4 separate regions of the Homo sapiens genome follow, and regions 2, 3 and 4 are each linked to region 1. The links are contacts of gene promoters, found by promoter capture Hi-C in blood cells and fetal thymus (Javierre and others, 2016). All regions are on one chromosome and are shown on one strand. Each heading gives the region's core, a stretch centred on a gene start or on the middle of the fragment in contact. The rest is flanking DNA. Distances are from core to core; before and after follow the strand shown.

Region 1 (3,306 bases), core at 488-2,987:
GGGTGTAGAAAGTATGAATTAATCACCTCTTCTTCCCAAATAAAGAATCTTAAAATTACCAACCTCACTGCTTGAGAGAGCTAAGTAGATTGAAAAGGCATGAAGATTTATGGAGGAAGCTCTCTTTTGGAGTTATAGGAAGAAGGGAAATTGATTCCACTAATCCTCTGGCTTCAGGCTCTCTCTAGACTCACAACATATATTCTTAGGCTTGAGAGTTGAGGACTCAGAAATGCTGTTTGGAGGATGGATGAAAGGGGACAATGACCCTCAGTTTTCGAGGAGCACAGTCCTCCTATGTAGGACACTGGTGCATAAGGATCAGAGTGTCGCACTGCTTGGAATATTCTCCAATTCTGAATAAAGGGTATATAAGTCATTATACATGGTGAATTCCACCACCAGATAAGATTTAAGGGTAGCAATTGTAATAAATCAAGGCCCTTGGCCCAGCTGATGTACCCTATTCTAAGTCCCCAGTTGGACAGATTTTCGAGCTTTCTTAAACAAATTTGTGTGCATCACAAATGCTTTTTCTGCCTGTCATGTAAAAGGCATCAACAAATATTGACTGGATCATCTGGACCTGACTTAGCTGCCCTTTGGAAAGTTCTGTTCAATCAGCTGGATAGAGCTGTTTGTTTTCCTCACCTAACCCTCACAGCTATCCTAGAGGTAGGTATCACTATTATTATCCCTCAATTTAACAAGGGTAAATTTGAAGTTCAGAAGGGTCAAGAACCGTAGGCGTAGGCCACGCATGCAATGGCATCCGCATGTAATTCGAGCACTTTGAGAGGCCTGGACGGGATGATCCCTTGATCCCAGGAGTTAGAGGTTGCAGTGAGCCCTGATCGCGCCACTGTACTACAGCCTGGGCCACAGAACGAGATGCCGTTTCAACAGCAACGGAAAAAAAAAAAAACAAAAAACGAAACAACAACAAAAACTTTAGGCATAAAGGCACTCAGGCTGAAGGGACCGATTGGAGTGCTGGCTTGAACTCGTTTTTCTGAGTTCAATTCCAGTGCTCTTCCCTTAGCAGTGTGCTGGAGCTACTTCCTGGAGCCGGGCAGCTGCAGGGCAGCGCTGGGGAAAAGACTGTTCTCTGGCTACATAGCAGCCTGGCTTCTCCAAGCCGGAGGGAGCTGCGCTGACCACTGAAGGCCTTTCTGATGCAACCCCTTCCAAGTAGAATCCATCGCAGCCTTTCAGATCCCGGAACCCAGAGGCTGTGTCGGTCCTGACGCACTGGCTTGGCTGGGCTCCGGTACGAGAGGGATCTCTGCAGCTCTCGGGCGAGGCAGTTGTGGGGAGCTGTAGGCTGACTTAAGACCTGGAGGCCAAGGAGGGGTGGCCAGGGGAAAACTTTCTCTATTTTGTCTCTCTGTGATGTCGCAGCTTTTCTCAGTCACTCCATCCAACGCCACCCACTTCAAACCTGAGATCAAGTGCAAAAAAAAAAGAGGGTGGGGTCACCCCTGGGCTGGAGATGCCGCTAGCCGCAGCCTGCCTACACCGGGCCGAGCTCCTTGGAGAGGGAGGGACACCGGCTCTGGCTGGGGGGGCGCGGAGTGCCGTGGGGAAATCGGGCGGGTGGGGCGCGCCCAGGCGCGGTCGAGTTGCCCCGAAGGCCGCAGGTGAGGGAGGGCGTGGGAGGCGCCCCAGGAGCTGCCTCTAGCGAGTGCGGCACCACGTGTCCGGCCGGGGCGGGGTCGGGCGTGCCCTCGGAGCCCAGAGCAATCGGCGGCAGTGGCGGCGGCGGCGCGTTGGAGCCTCACCAAGAGCCGCCGCCCGCAGCCCGCGCCGGCTCAGCGCAGTCTCCTCGCTCCGTGCTCGCAGGTGCCTCCTCCTGGACGGCGGCAGCGGCGGCGCGAGGAGCCGGCGGGCAGCGGCGCGATGGGGCCCCTCCGCGAGAGCAAGGTAAGGAGCGCGGGGCAGTGCGGGCACTGGAGGGCGGGGAAGGCGGGCACTGCGGGGCGAGAAGCGGCGGGATGAGAGCTGGAGGGGTGACATTTAGAGTCTGGGGAAAGGTGGAAGGAGGTGGTGGTGGGGTCTGGAGAAGGCAGGAGGCATTGCTTAGGAGTTGAGATCCAGGAGATGGGGAGGTGGTACTGGAGGAATAGATTTTGGAGAATGACATGATTGGAGGGTTAATCCCACCTCCTGAAACTGGGACTGTGGGGTGTAGCTTTCAGTTGATATCCTGTGTGTGTGATGTGAATGAAAGGAATTTGATGCATCCGCGACTGGGAAAAGAGGACTCCCGCGTGTCAGTGACCCTGCCTTAGCTCAGGGTCTGCGGTGTGCCCGGCGGAGTGGCTGGCGCATGGTACCTGCTGGGCGGCAGATGTGCAGGGCGAATCCGAGGCTGCGTGCGGCTGGCGGCCCCCGGGTAGAGTGGATGCCTGAGGGCCCTCCGAAGTTCCCCATTGCTGAGGTTTACCCTTCAATTTATGCCATGTGCCGGCCTCCCAGAGGTGTTTATTTTGGCCGTGACCCTTCCTGGTAAGCCGGTGGAAGGAACAGTAGGTCATGTTTCGAAAGGGTGTTTGTTACCTAAGCCAAAGAGTCCCTTTCAGTGGCAGAGGTTGGAGGAAGCAGTGGAATTTTTGCAAAACGCTCCTCCTAGGAATCCATTTTCATAAGGCAGGGTGGTGGTGACCCTGCAAAGCACTGGATTTGAATTTCGTTCTACTTCTGGCATGGTGTGCAGAATTGCCTAAGCATCTCTACCCCATTTAGCCTGTTTCCTCATCTGAAAATAGGGACATTCATTGGTGTGCTCTCTATGTACAGTCTGGTGTGTAAAGATCAAATGAGAAAATGGTTGGAAAAGCACTTTATAAGTTGGAAAACATTGTGAAAATATTACTGTTACGCATTTTTAAAACCACGAAATGGCAGGGTACTTCATGCTGCGTTTTTAAGGAGAAAGAAAAATCTCTTCTTATGGATGTCCTGTAAGGAAAACAAAAATTAAAGATGATGTAAAAGGTGGAGCCATCTTCCCGAGTATCGGATTTGTGTTTGCTTTTCTGTTGGCAACAAGCCTTGTGTACCAGGATATTAACGAATAATTAAGATCCTGTCCAGAAGAGGAGGGATTTTAAAGATAATTGTGTGTGAGCTATCAGGAAATAACTGTTCCAGGTATAGGGTTCAACTTTGTGAGGAGACAAGAAAACAAGTCAGACTGTCACAGCTAATTTAGGGAAAGCAAAATGGAAGTCTGAAGGCTATCAAGTAAGCCAGAGTGTGGTGTTAATAAAGAGCCTTTGGGAGGCAGAAGCTTGAATGTGATAG
Region 2 (3,306 bases), core at 284-2,783, 220 kb after region 1:
AATCAAAGAGAATGAAACTACAGTATATGCAATGTGAATCTCACAAAATTGAATGAAAGAAGCTAGATTCAAAGGAGTACACACAGTATGATTTTATTGATATGAAGTTTAAGAACAATCGAAAATAATTCAGGGTAGTAGATGTCAAAAGAGTGGTTATTGGGGTGAGGAGTGAGTTTAAGAAAGAAGAGCGGTTCAAGGAAGGTACTTGGGGAGCTAATGATTATCTTCATTTGGGTGTGATTACATGAGTGTATCTACTTTGTAAAAATGTGTTGAATTCAGTAGGTTATAAGATACAAGATAAAGACACAAAAATCAATTACATTTCTATATACAAATAACGAGCATGTGGAAATCGAATTTAAAAACACAAGACCATTTACAACTGCTCGAAGAAAATGAAACACGTTTATAAATCTCACAAAACATGTACTAGACCTGAACTGAAAATTGCAAAATGCCGATAAATGTAATAAATGAAGATCTAAATATGCTGGTAAAGCACGAAGAGGACAAATAATTGGAGAGACATACTGTGTTCATGGATTGGAAGACTCAATATCACAATGGTGTCAATTCTCTCCAAAACAGTCTATAGATTTAATGTAATTATTGTCAAAATACCAGCAAGGTTTTTTTGTAGACATAAATAATCTTATTTTAAAATTTATATGGGAAGGCACAGGACCTAGAATAGCTAAAACAATTTTGCACAAGAAAAATAAAGTAAGAAGAATCACTCTACTCAATGTTAAGTCTAACTATTCAGATACAATAGTCAAGAATGTGTGGTATTGGTGGAAGGACTGACACATAGACCAATGGAAAGAATAGAAAACTCAGAAATATGCCCACACAAATATGATTTTTGACAAAGGTTCCAATGTAATTAAATGGAAGAAAGATAGCCTTTTCAATAATGTTGCTGAAACAATTGGAGGCATAGGCAAACAAATGAACCTCAACGAAAAATCACATCTTACATGTAAAAATTAACACAAAATGGATCATGCCCTTAAATATAAAATGTAAATCTGTAGGATTTTTAGAAAAAGAAAAATCCTCAGGACCTAGAGCTAAGTAAGTTCTTAGACTTGAAACCAAAAGCACCGTTCAAAAAAGAAAAAAAAAAGTGATAAATTTGGCCTCATAAAATTTTTAAAACTTTGTTCTGTCAAAGACCTTATGAAGAAGATGAAAAGGTGAGGTACAGTCTGGGAGAAAATATTTGCAAACCATATATCTGACAAAAGAATTATACCTAGACATTTCACAGTAGAAGATATGTAGGTGGCAAATAAGTTCATAAAAAGATGTTCAACATCATTAGCCATTAGGAAATATCAATTAAAATGAAAATGAACCATCGTTACACACCCTACCAGAACGCCTAAAATTAAAAATAGTGACATCACCAAACACTGGCAAGATTGTGCAGAAACTGGATCGTACACTGCTGGTGGGAATCTAAAATGGTACAACCACTTCAGAAAAAAAATATGGTAGTTTCTTTAAAAACTATACATGTTCTTACCATACAACCCTATAATTGCACTGTTGGGAATTTAACCGAGAAAAAATGGAAACTTATGTCTCACAAAAGCCTACAGATGAATGTTCATAGCGGTTTAATTCATAATAGCCAAAACCAAGAAACAACTCAAATGTCCTTCAACGGGTGAGTAAACAAACTGGTACATCCATAACAGTAAATATACTCAGCAATTAAAATGAATAAATCGATCAACACAATTTGAATGGATCTCAAGGGAATTATGCTGAGTTAAAAAAATGCCAGTATACAAAAGCTATGTATTTGTGTGATTATATGACATCTGATTCCATTTTTGTAGCATTCTTGAAACGACAAAATTATTGAGAGAATGAATTTGTGGTTGCCATATATAAGTGAGTGCAGGAGGAATGGAACGAGGGAGATGGCTGTGACAGCATGGCTACAAAAAGGTAGCACAAGAGACGCTCGTAATAGAACTGTTCTGGTGGTGGTCAGATGAATCTACACCTATGATAAAATTGTGTAAGAACTACACAAACACGCACACACACACACACAACCCTGGAAAAATCTGAATAAGGTCAGTGGATTTTATCATGTCAATTTCCTGGTTATGATATTATGCTATATTATACAAAAAAATTATCATTGGGGGAAAATGGGTAAAGGATATAAAAATAGTTCTGTGCTATTTCTTACAACTGCATGTGAATCTACAATTATGTCAAAGTTAAAGTTCTTAAAACAATTTATTGATCTATACATTTAACATATGTGCATATTATTTATTACATGTACCTATCACTTGAATTTTTTTAAAAGGTCACAAAAATCTAAGTCCTGTATTCTTCAGTGTAAACTTTGATGAATAATTAAAGATAGAGGTTACAGTTACCAATTAGTTTATTGAGGAATCTTGAAAAATGGGAGAATTTTGACACAGATGCTTTGAGAATACAGAGCCTTGAATTAGTTATTATATTTTCTTTTTTTTGAGACAGAGTCTCGCTCTGTCGCCGAGGCTGAAGTGCAGTGGCGCGATCTCCGCTCACTGCAAGCTCCGCCTCCCGGGTTCACGCCATTCTCCTGCCTCAGCCTCGGAAGGAGCTGGGACTACAGGCCCCCGCCACCACGCCCGGCTAATTTTTTTGTATTTTTTAGTGGAGATGGGGTTTCACCATGTTAGCCCGGATGGTCTCGATCTTCTGACCTCATGATCCGCCCGTCTCGGCCTCCCAAAGTGCTGGTATTATAGGCGTGAGCCACCGCGCCCGGCCAGTTATTATATTTTCTAATAGAGCTAAGAGTAAAGCACTGAAAAGCATTTGTAAGATGCTAATCTGGAAGATATTAAGACTAAAACATTGGGCCAGGATGGGATAAAGGCAATTTTTTTGGAGTTTTTATAATTTTTCAGTAATTTTAATCATAAAATTGTTTACTTTGCAAAAATTTTCTGTGAGGCTCTAATCCAATTACAATGGTTAATGATTATTTAATCTTTAATCTTGAGCTTATTATACTTGTTTTTGGTTTGTGGTAGGAAATTATATTAACTCATTGAATATTTTTATAGAAATTTAATTTTAAATTTTTCATTATATTTGTAATATTTAATATTAATCTTATTACAAATGTACAAAAAATTGTTCAGGTCCTTCTGGAATTATGAAAAACCACTTCTTTCTTCCCTTGTATAAATTTTCATACAAGCAAAAATAAATGGTGTTTATAACAAAACAATTAAAAAGCATAATGCAGAATCTCAATTTTTCTCTCAATAATAT
Region 3 (3,306 bases), core at 445-2,944, 170 kb after region 1:
ATATATTTCATGATATAAAAAATAAAGTCCTTAACTGCTGGTCCCTGAGATATCATAAACTCTCAGTAAAGGTAAGTTATTATCATGGTAATAATGACAGGGGAATAAGCTTAGTACTACAGCAATGTGGCAGAAAGATTGCTTACTTCTGATTCTCAAATGAGATTTTTTTGGCTTACTTCTTAGATTCAGAGTGGCTCACAAAGAATGTGCAGGATTTCAATAGCTCAATTTGTGATGAAAGTCCCTCTGGCCTGACAATGTCTGTGAGTAAGTATGAGGATGTAGGCTGTGTTTGGGTAATACACAATTATAATCATTAGAAGATAAATATTTTTACCTTGAATCCATAGAATGTCGATGTATATGAAATGTTGGTTATGTGATCCACACCTTTAAAATACCAGTTAATGTGATTTGCATTTGGAATCAGAGCCATCCATCCAGACATATGAGTCAGTCGTTTCTTCTGAAATGGAATAATGCTTGTGCCTATAGGAGAACATAGAACAAGAAAATAATAGTAATCTCTACCTCTAATAAACTCCTCCTTTTGTAAACAAGTGCAAAAGTTAGTTTAGTTTGGTTGGTTTAGCAAATGTTGGTTTAGCAAATATTGGTTTAGTCTATGACAGTCTTTAAAAAGATTAATATGGCATTTCATTACTTATGTTCTAAATGTCTTCGTTTGACTGAAGAACTGAAATGATTAATATTATATTTAACTGGAAAGTAAAATGCTTTCAAACCTGGAATTTTGAATTGAGATGGAGCCTTTATTCCTTAGGGAAAGATACACTTGAAACATTGTGAAATTACAACTGCTAAAACGAAAGTGCCTAAATATATTAATATAATTATTTAAAGGTCATTGATCTAAACATAATTTCATTTTTATTCTTTAAGAACTTAGTTATTCAGAATCCTTGATGTAGAATATATAAAAACATAAGCTCTGATTCTTTATTAGAGTTTTCTATGTCTGTTGAGCTAATTAAAATCTGTACAACACATATTAATGTTTACTAGTAAATAATTTTGTTTGACTTTAATGGTGTTTTGATTTAGAATTATTAAAGAACAAGGCTACAACTAGACCTATAACTTAACACTGATGAAGATATATACATTTTAGGAATACAAACCTTGAACCTGAACTACCTGTTACAGGAAAAACTATATAATTTAGTAATGCTTTGGTCACAAGAGAATGCCTGATAGCTTTAATAGAAGATTTGAAAAGTTCTCTTACAATATAAAGGAAAGGTCTTTCATTAACTGCCTCTATTTTTCTCCCCCTTCCTTTACTTTTCATCTCAGATTGGATTTTATATTAAAGTAACAACCTCTTATTTTAAAAATTTAGGAGGAAGAAGCTAGAAGCAAGATTATAAAATAATCTGTCTGAAATAAGGCCCAACAAAATTCCAAAGCCATGAGAGAAAAAATTCATGATTTTCTATGCTTTATGAGTTAGTATTAATTTTAAAAGATTCATGACCAGAGACACCAAAAACTTTCACTACCAGAAAATCCCGTAAAGTATGAAAAGAACTGTGACTAGTTGGATTATTGTTCAGCAAATATCCACTCCTTTCTTCTCCTTGAGGGCAAAGTAGACTTCCCTGCTTCATTGATCTTGGCCAATGGGACATTAGTGGAACTGACACTAGTAAATGCTTGAAAAGTGCTTGCTCAGTGAGGTTTGACTTCTTAAGCCTCTATCTTCACAAAGAGAAGAGCCTCCTCCAGGTAACTGCTCTCCCTTTGCCTGACACCTGGAACGAGTACATGTGGAGTTACCTGAGCTCAGCCCTTGGGGAGAAGCAAAGCCTTATATTGAAGCAGAGACTTCCAGCAGAGCCCAGCCTAGATCAATCAACCTAGCCTGTGGACACCTAAGAATAAATGATTGTAGGCTTAAGCTATTGAGTTTTGAGATAGTCTGTTGTGAAGCAATGGTTAACATAGAAGAGCTGATTAAAATCATCCAAAACCTCTAGAATTTGCTCCTGGATTTGCAGAACTCAATTAAGTGGAATTCCACTGAATTGAGTTCTTTTCTTTCTTTTTCTTTTCTTTTTTTTTTTTCTTGAGATGGAGTCTCTAACTGTCACCCAGGCTGGAGTCCAGTGGTATGATCTCGGCTCACTGCAAACTCTGCCTCCTGGATTCAAGCAATTCTCCTGCCTCAACCTCCCAAGTAGCTGGGATTACAGGCATGTGCCACCACACCTGGCTAATTTTTCTGGTAGTTTTAGTAGAGGCAGGGTTTCACCTATGTTGGCCAGGCTGCTTTCGAACTCTTGACCTCAAGTGATCTGCCCACCTTTGCCCCCCAAAGGGCTAGGATTACAGGCATGAGCCACCGCACCCAGCCTCCAGTGAAGTTTTCTGATGCTTGGGATTGCATTTAACCTGACATTTCTTAATAATTCAGTTTCACAAGTGAAACAAATTTCCATTTTTTTAAGTTGTGTTTTTCCTAATTTTTTAAGCTGCACTCATTTCAAGTATGTTGGTTTTAAGTGTCTTGGACTGAAATATAAACTCTTTGAAGTTGATATTTTCTAAAAATAGGATCATTAAGAGTTAGTGTCTCAAATTAATTTGCCATCTGGTATAACTTTATACATATATTTACATAAAGATATACCATCATGCATGAGATGCTTTGATAAAGATATATATGGACGTGTGTAAAATTATAGCAAACCCTTACTTCCCACTAATCTAGTATACTTTTTAAACTTTTGTTTCACTCAGCATACATATACAATCAGGACAAGTTATCTTTTTCTGTTTTTAACTTTTAGAAGTAAATAATTTTATTTGACTTTAATGGAGATCAAAGTAGCCAAATGTACTTTACTATACAGTTGATTTTTTTTTTTCACACACAGAAGTAAAATGCCTAGCATAGTGTTTTCTCTAATTTGCAATGTGGTCTGAGTATTGCAACTAATTCCATTTAATTCAACACTTGCTGAGTAGTTACTATTTGCAATGTCCTGCGTTGAGCCTTGCGGCGTCAGAAAGATAAGTTTGTAGATCTGGCCCTCTAGGTATTCACAGTTTAGTAACTCAATAAAAAATCTTAATTCTTGAAGGGAATAGATGAAAGGGTGCAGAGAAACGTGACAAGAAAGCTAAAATGTTATAAATTCAGAAATACCAGATTCCCTGAATCAAAAAACCAGAATATAGACAAATAAGCAAACAAAAGCTCCTTTCTAAAATCCTCACCACCACTAAAAATAACCACAAAAAGAAAGCTTAGAGATTTGAAAGCTTAGATGTTTGAAT
Region 4 (3,306 bases), core at 574-3,073, 150 kb after region 1:
CATTATCCCTGGAAGTTCACTTGGGAAACTTGTGCTTCCAATACTAAAATTTTAGGTTCTATGAGTCTGGAGGTCATAGTTCCCAGATGAGAAGTGTTTCAGCAGGACATACAGTAAGTGACTCAATAAAAATAAAGTTATACCTACCTCATTGTCACTTCAGGCTTCTCGTCAGACAAAGAAGGCATTTACCACCTGGCAGAAGTAACTGATCCTGATCACCATGCAGAGGTAGGCCTATTCTATAGAATGAAGGCAGGATGCACTCACATGATCCACTGGGGTATATGCCCACTGTTAGTTGTAAAATGGCAAGTACAGAAGTCATGGCTTCATAAGGGCACAGAAACCAGGGACTTTTTTTTTTTTTTTTTTTTTTTTTTGAGACAGAGTTTTACTCTGTTGCCCAGGCTGGAGTACAGTTGTGTGATCTCGGCTCACTGCAACCTCCGCCTCCCAGTTTCAAGCAATTCTCCTGCCTCAGCCTTACAAGTAGCTGGGATTATGCCCAGCTAGGTTTTTTTTTTTTTTTTTTTGTATTTTTAGTAGAGTCGGGGTTTCACCATGTTGGCCAAACTGGTCTTGAACTCCTGACCTCATGATTCATCCACCTTGGCCTTCCAAAGTGCTGGGATTACAGGCATGAGCCACCATGGACCAGGGGCCTATTTATAACAGGAATGAGGGTCTGAGCCATTCTACCAGGCAAGCCATCTTGACAAGCAGAAGTGTTAACCAAGGAAGACAGAAATTTAGAAAGGGTGATGGATGAGAGAGATGATGAGTATCATTTATGGTTTAGGGACCAGCTATGGCAGGGTGACCACCAAACCTCTTCTTAAAGTTTTTCCCAAAAATTGTGACCATGCAGAATCTTGGAGAAATCATATATAACTTAATATAACTAACAATGAAGAAAGCAAGTAGATCCCAGTAGTCCCAAGAGAGGACTAAAGTGGATACAGGCTGGTACACCCATCTCTCATCTCTTTGAATATTGGCTGTTAACAAATCTCCCTTTTCCCAGACAATTAGCTTAGCCAAAAAGGAGCCACATACCCGGGAAATCAAGGTCCTCCCCATAGGGGCAGCTGTAACCAAAAACTAACATGGGGATACAAATGACTTCCGTCCCCTACCCACCTCACCAGATGTGGGATCAACTCCGTGGCAATTTTAACTTACACTCTAGAGTTTCCCAGTGGCATCAAGTATAGCTGCCCTTCAGCTCATATCACATCCTTGCTTAGCAACTTCCCTTGCCCTGTTCTCTTCCTTCCCTTTCTACTAGGTGTTCCAAGAAGCCACTAATATGAAAGTCCTCATCTAAGGCTGTTTCTAGTGAATCTCAGTCAACCAACTTTTATATGTTATTTTAAAAGACTATATCTTATGAAAGAATAATAGTTATTAATGTTCTTTCAATAAATTTCAATCTTAAGGCTTCATTTCATAAGGGCAGTTTCATTGTCACATGATATTTATAATATTCTGGAGCATATTATTTATTAAAAGCCATATATGTTCAATTACAACCTATGTAGCATGTTATACAATTTCCTCCAAGGGTATGAGCATTGCAATTAACACTTAAAAGTGTTGCTAATTTGTTTCACATTTCTGGGATCTAAAGCTGTGAGAAAGAATATGTTAAAACTTAGATGTCTAACTTACTGAACTACTTTCTTCAGAGACACTGGTTAAAATTATCCTGGAAGGGACACTTGCTCCATTAAAACAGGAAATGCACAGTGTTATTTAATAGGCCAAATGAAAATAATTGATGTGTTTACTACATTAATTTATATATAATTATTTTACATTTCTAAGCAGCCATCCTGGTTCAGTGAAAGAGCAGTGGAGTTTGAATCAGAAGATTTTGATTCTAATCCTAGCTGTGCCAATAGCTGTGGGAATTTGGCCAGGCACTAAGTTCTTTGAGCTTAAGGTTCTTCAATTTTAAAAAGGGATGATAATATATAATCCTACTTACATGAAAGGGCATTTACAAATTATACAAATTAATATTAAATCACAAATGCCAGTGTTTTGTTGTTGTTTTAGAAGGAAAATTTAACATCAATTCTTCAACATACAGTATAAGAATCCTGCCAAGAAACCATTCTCAAAATTGACTCTGATGTCTGATTTCTTTGTCATATTGAGCAGATTGCTATAAAAATTCACTTAAATCATTTTTACTAACAATGAAACATTATTAGTTATCCTCTACATATTCTTTACAGAAATTAATTGAGAAGATTTGTAAAAGACTGTGTACTTGCCTGAGATGTCCAAAAGGCCACTGATGGCATTGTAACTCATGATTCCTGCATGGGGCTTTCGGGGTGCCATGTTATGAGCTGAAGCAAAGGTAGGCCAACAAATCCCACTTCTCCCACCTTTTACCAAAAAAGAAAAAGTTAATGAAAATTGAATATGCACTCATATGAACAACAACATTAAAGTTTCAAATTTTTCACCTGATGGAGATCTAGGACTCCGATGAGCAGCAGTGAGTTCAATATTAGGATCATCATTAGTTAGGACATCAGAGCAATTAAACCCAGGGCTACTTCCAACAATTAATGAGCTCTGTTTGGAAATAAGCCAAACAATATAGCATTAATAATAGCTCTTACTAAAAGAAAACATGGGCCGGGCGCGGTGGCTCACGCCTGTAATCCCAGCACTTTGGGAGGCCGAGGCGGGTGGATCATGAGGTCAGGAGATCGAGACCATCCTGGCTAACAAGGTGAAACCCCGTCTCTACTAAAAATACAAAAAATTAGCCGGGCGCGGTGGCGGGCGCCTGTAGTCCCAGCTACTCGGGAGGCTGAGGCAGGAGAATGGCGTGAACCCGGGAAGCGGAGCTTGCAGTGAGCCGAGATTGCGCCACTGCAGTCCGCAGTCCGGCCTGGGCGACAGAGCGAGACTCCGTCTCAAAAAAAAAAAAAAAAAAAAAAAAAGAAAACATGATAATGAATAGTACTAAATTCTACTGTAGTAAATAAAATGCAAACTATAAATTCAAAAAGTGGATCATTCATTAAACAAAGATGAAAAAGGTTGCTACCCCAACTGGAAAAGCACTAAGAATAGGAGAGGGAAGACAGACATGTAAATAATTACATATAAGGACATGTTATGTTTCTGTGATAAATACATCCAGGGAACAGTAGGCACAAAAAAGTGGAGGAAGTGTCATTACCACCTAAACTGGCTCAGAAAAAACTTCATAGAGGGAGTGAAAATTTAACTATTTCAAGATTAGCAGGTGATAAGCAAGAAGAGGGAAGGGAGGAG

What was found. The method cuts DNA at HindIII sites, captures the fragments that hold promoters and counts their contacts. A CHiCAGO score of 5 or more calls a contact.
Region 2: a fragment that was not itself captured here is called in contact with the fragment with the promoter of SYBU in region 1 in 2 of 17 cell types (total B cells and naive B cells); the score reaches 5.9 in total B cells.
Region 3: a contact is called between a fragment that was not itself captured here and the fragment with the promoter of SYBU in region 1, in 2 of 17 cell types (total B cells and naive B cells). The highest score is 8.8, in total B cells.
Region 4: a contact is called between a fragment that was not itself captured here and the fragment with the promoter of SYBU in region 1, in 1 of 17 cell types (naive B cells). The highest score is 5.4, in naive B cells.

What each region holds. Positions count from the first base shown.
Region 1 is chr8:109,643,253-109,646,558 of GRCh38, reverse strand. It overlaps SYBU (syntabulin), which reads left to right and starts at 1,737. Exons shown (of 7, transcript NM_001099754.2): 1 at 1,737-1,923. The coding sequence starts at 1,900. SYBU-AS1 (SYBU antisense RNA 1) reads right to left here and starts at 2,430. Exons shown (of 2, transcript NR_161375.1): 1 at 2,337-2,430; 2 at 1-1,441. RefSeq lists enhancers at 1,053-1,372, 1,034-1,970 and a silencer at 1,483-1,972. The HindIII fragment of the contact is 4,274 bases long and covers 1-3,294 here.
Region 2 is chr8:109,420,991-109,424,296 of GRCh38, reverse strand. All of the region lies in intron 23 of PKHD1L1 (PKHD1 like 1), which reads right to left. Among named protein-coding and RNA genes, the nearest start is that of PKHD1L1, 60 kb to the right of the region's middle. The HindIII fragment of the contact is 4,892 bases long and covers 1-3,306 here.
Region 3 is chr8:109,472,304-109,475,609 of GRCh38, reverse strand. PKHD1L1 (PKHD1 like 1) reads right to left here. Exons shown (of 78, transcript NM_177531.6): 51 at 341-492. Among named protein-coding and RNA genes, the nearest start is that of EBAG9UORF, 66 kb to the left of the region's middle. The HindIII fragment of the contact is 3,166 bases long and covers 112-3,277 here.
Region 4 is chr8:109,497,751-109,501,056 of GRCh38, reverse strand. PKHD1L1 (PKHD1 like 1) reads right to left here. Exons shown (of 78, transcript NM_177531.6): 66 at 2,484-2,595; 67 at 2,286-2,402. Among named protein-coding and RNA genes, the nearest start is that of EBAG9UORF, 40 kb to the left of the region's middle. The HindIII fragment of the contact is 6,056 bases long and covers 1-3,306 here.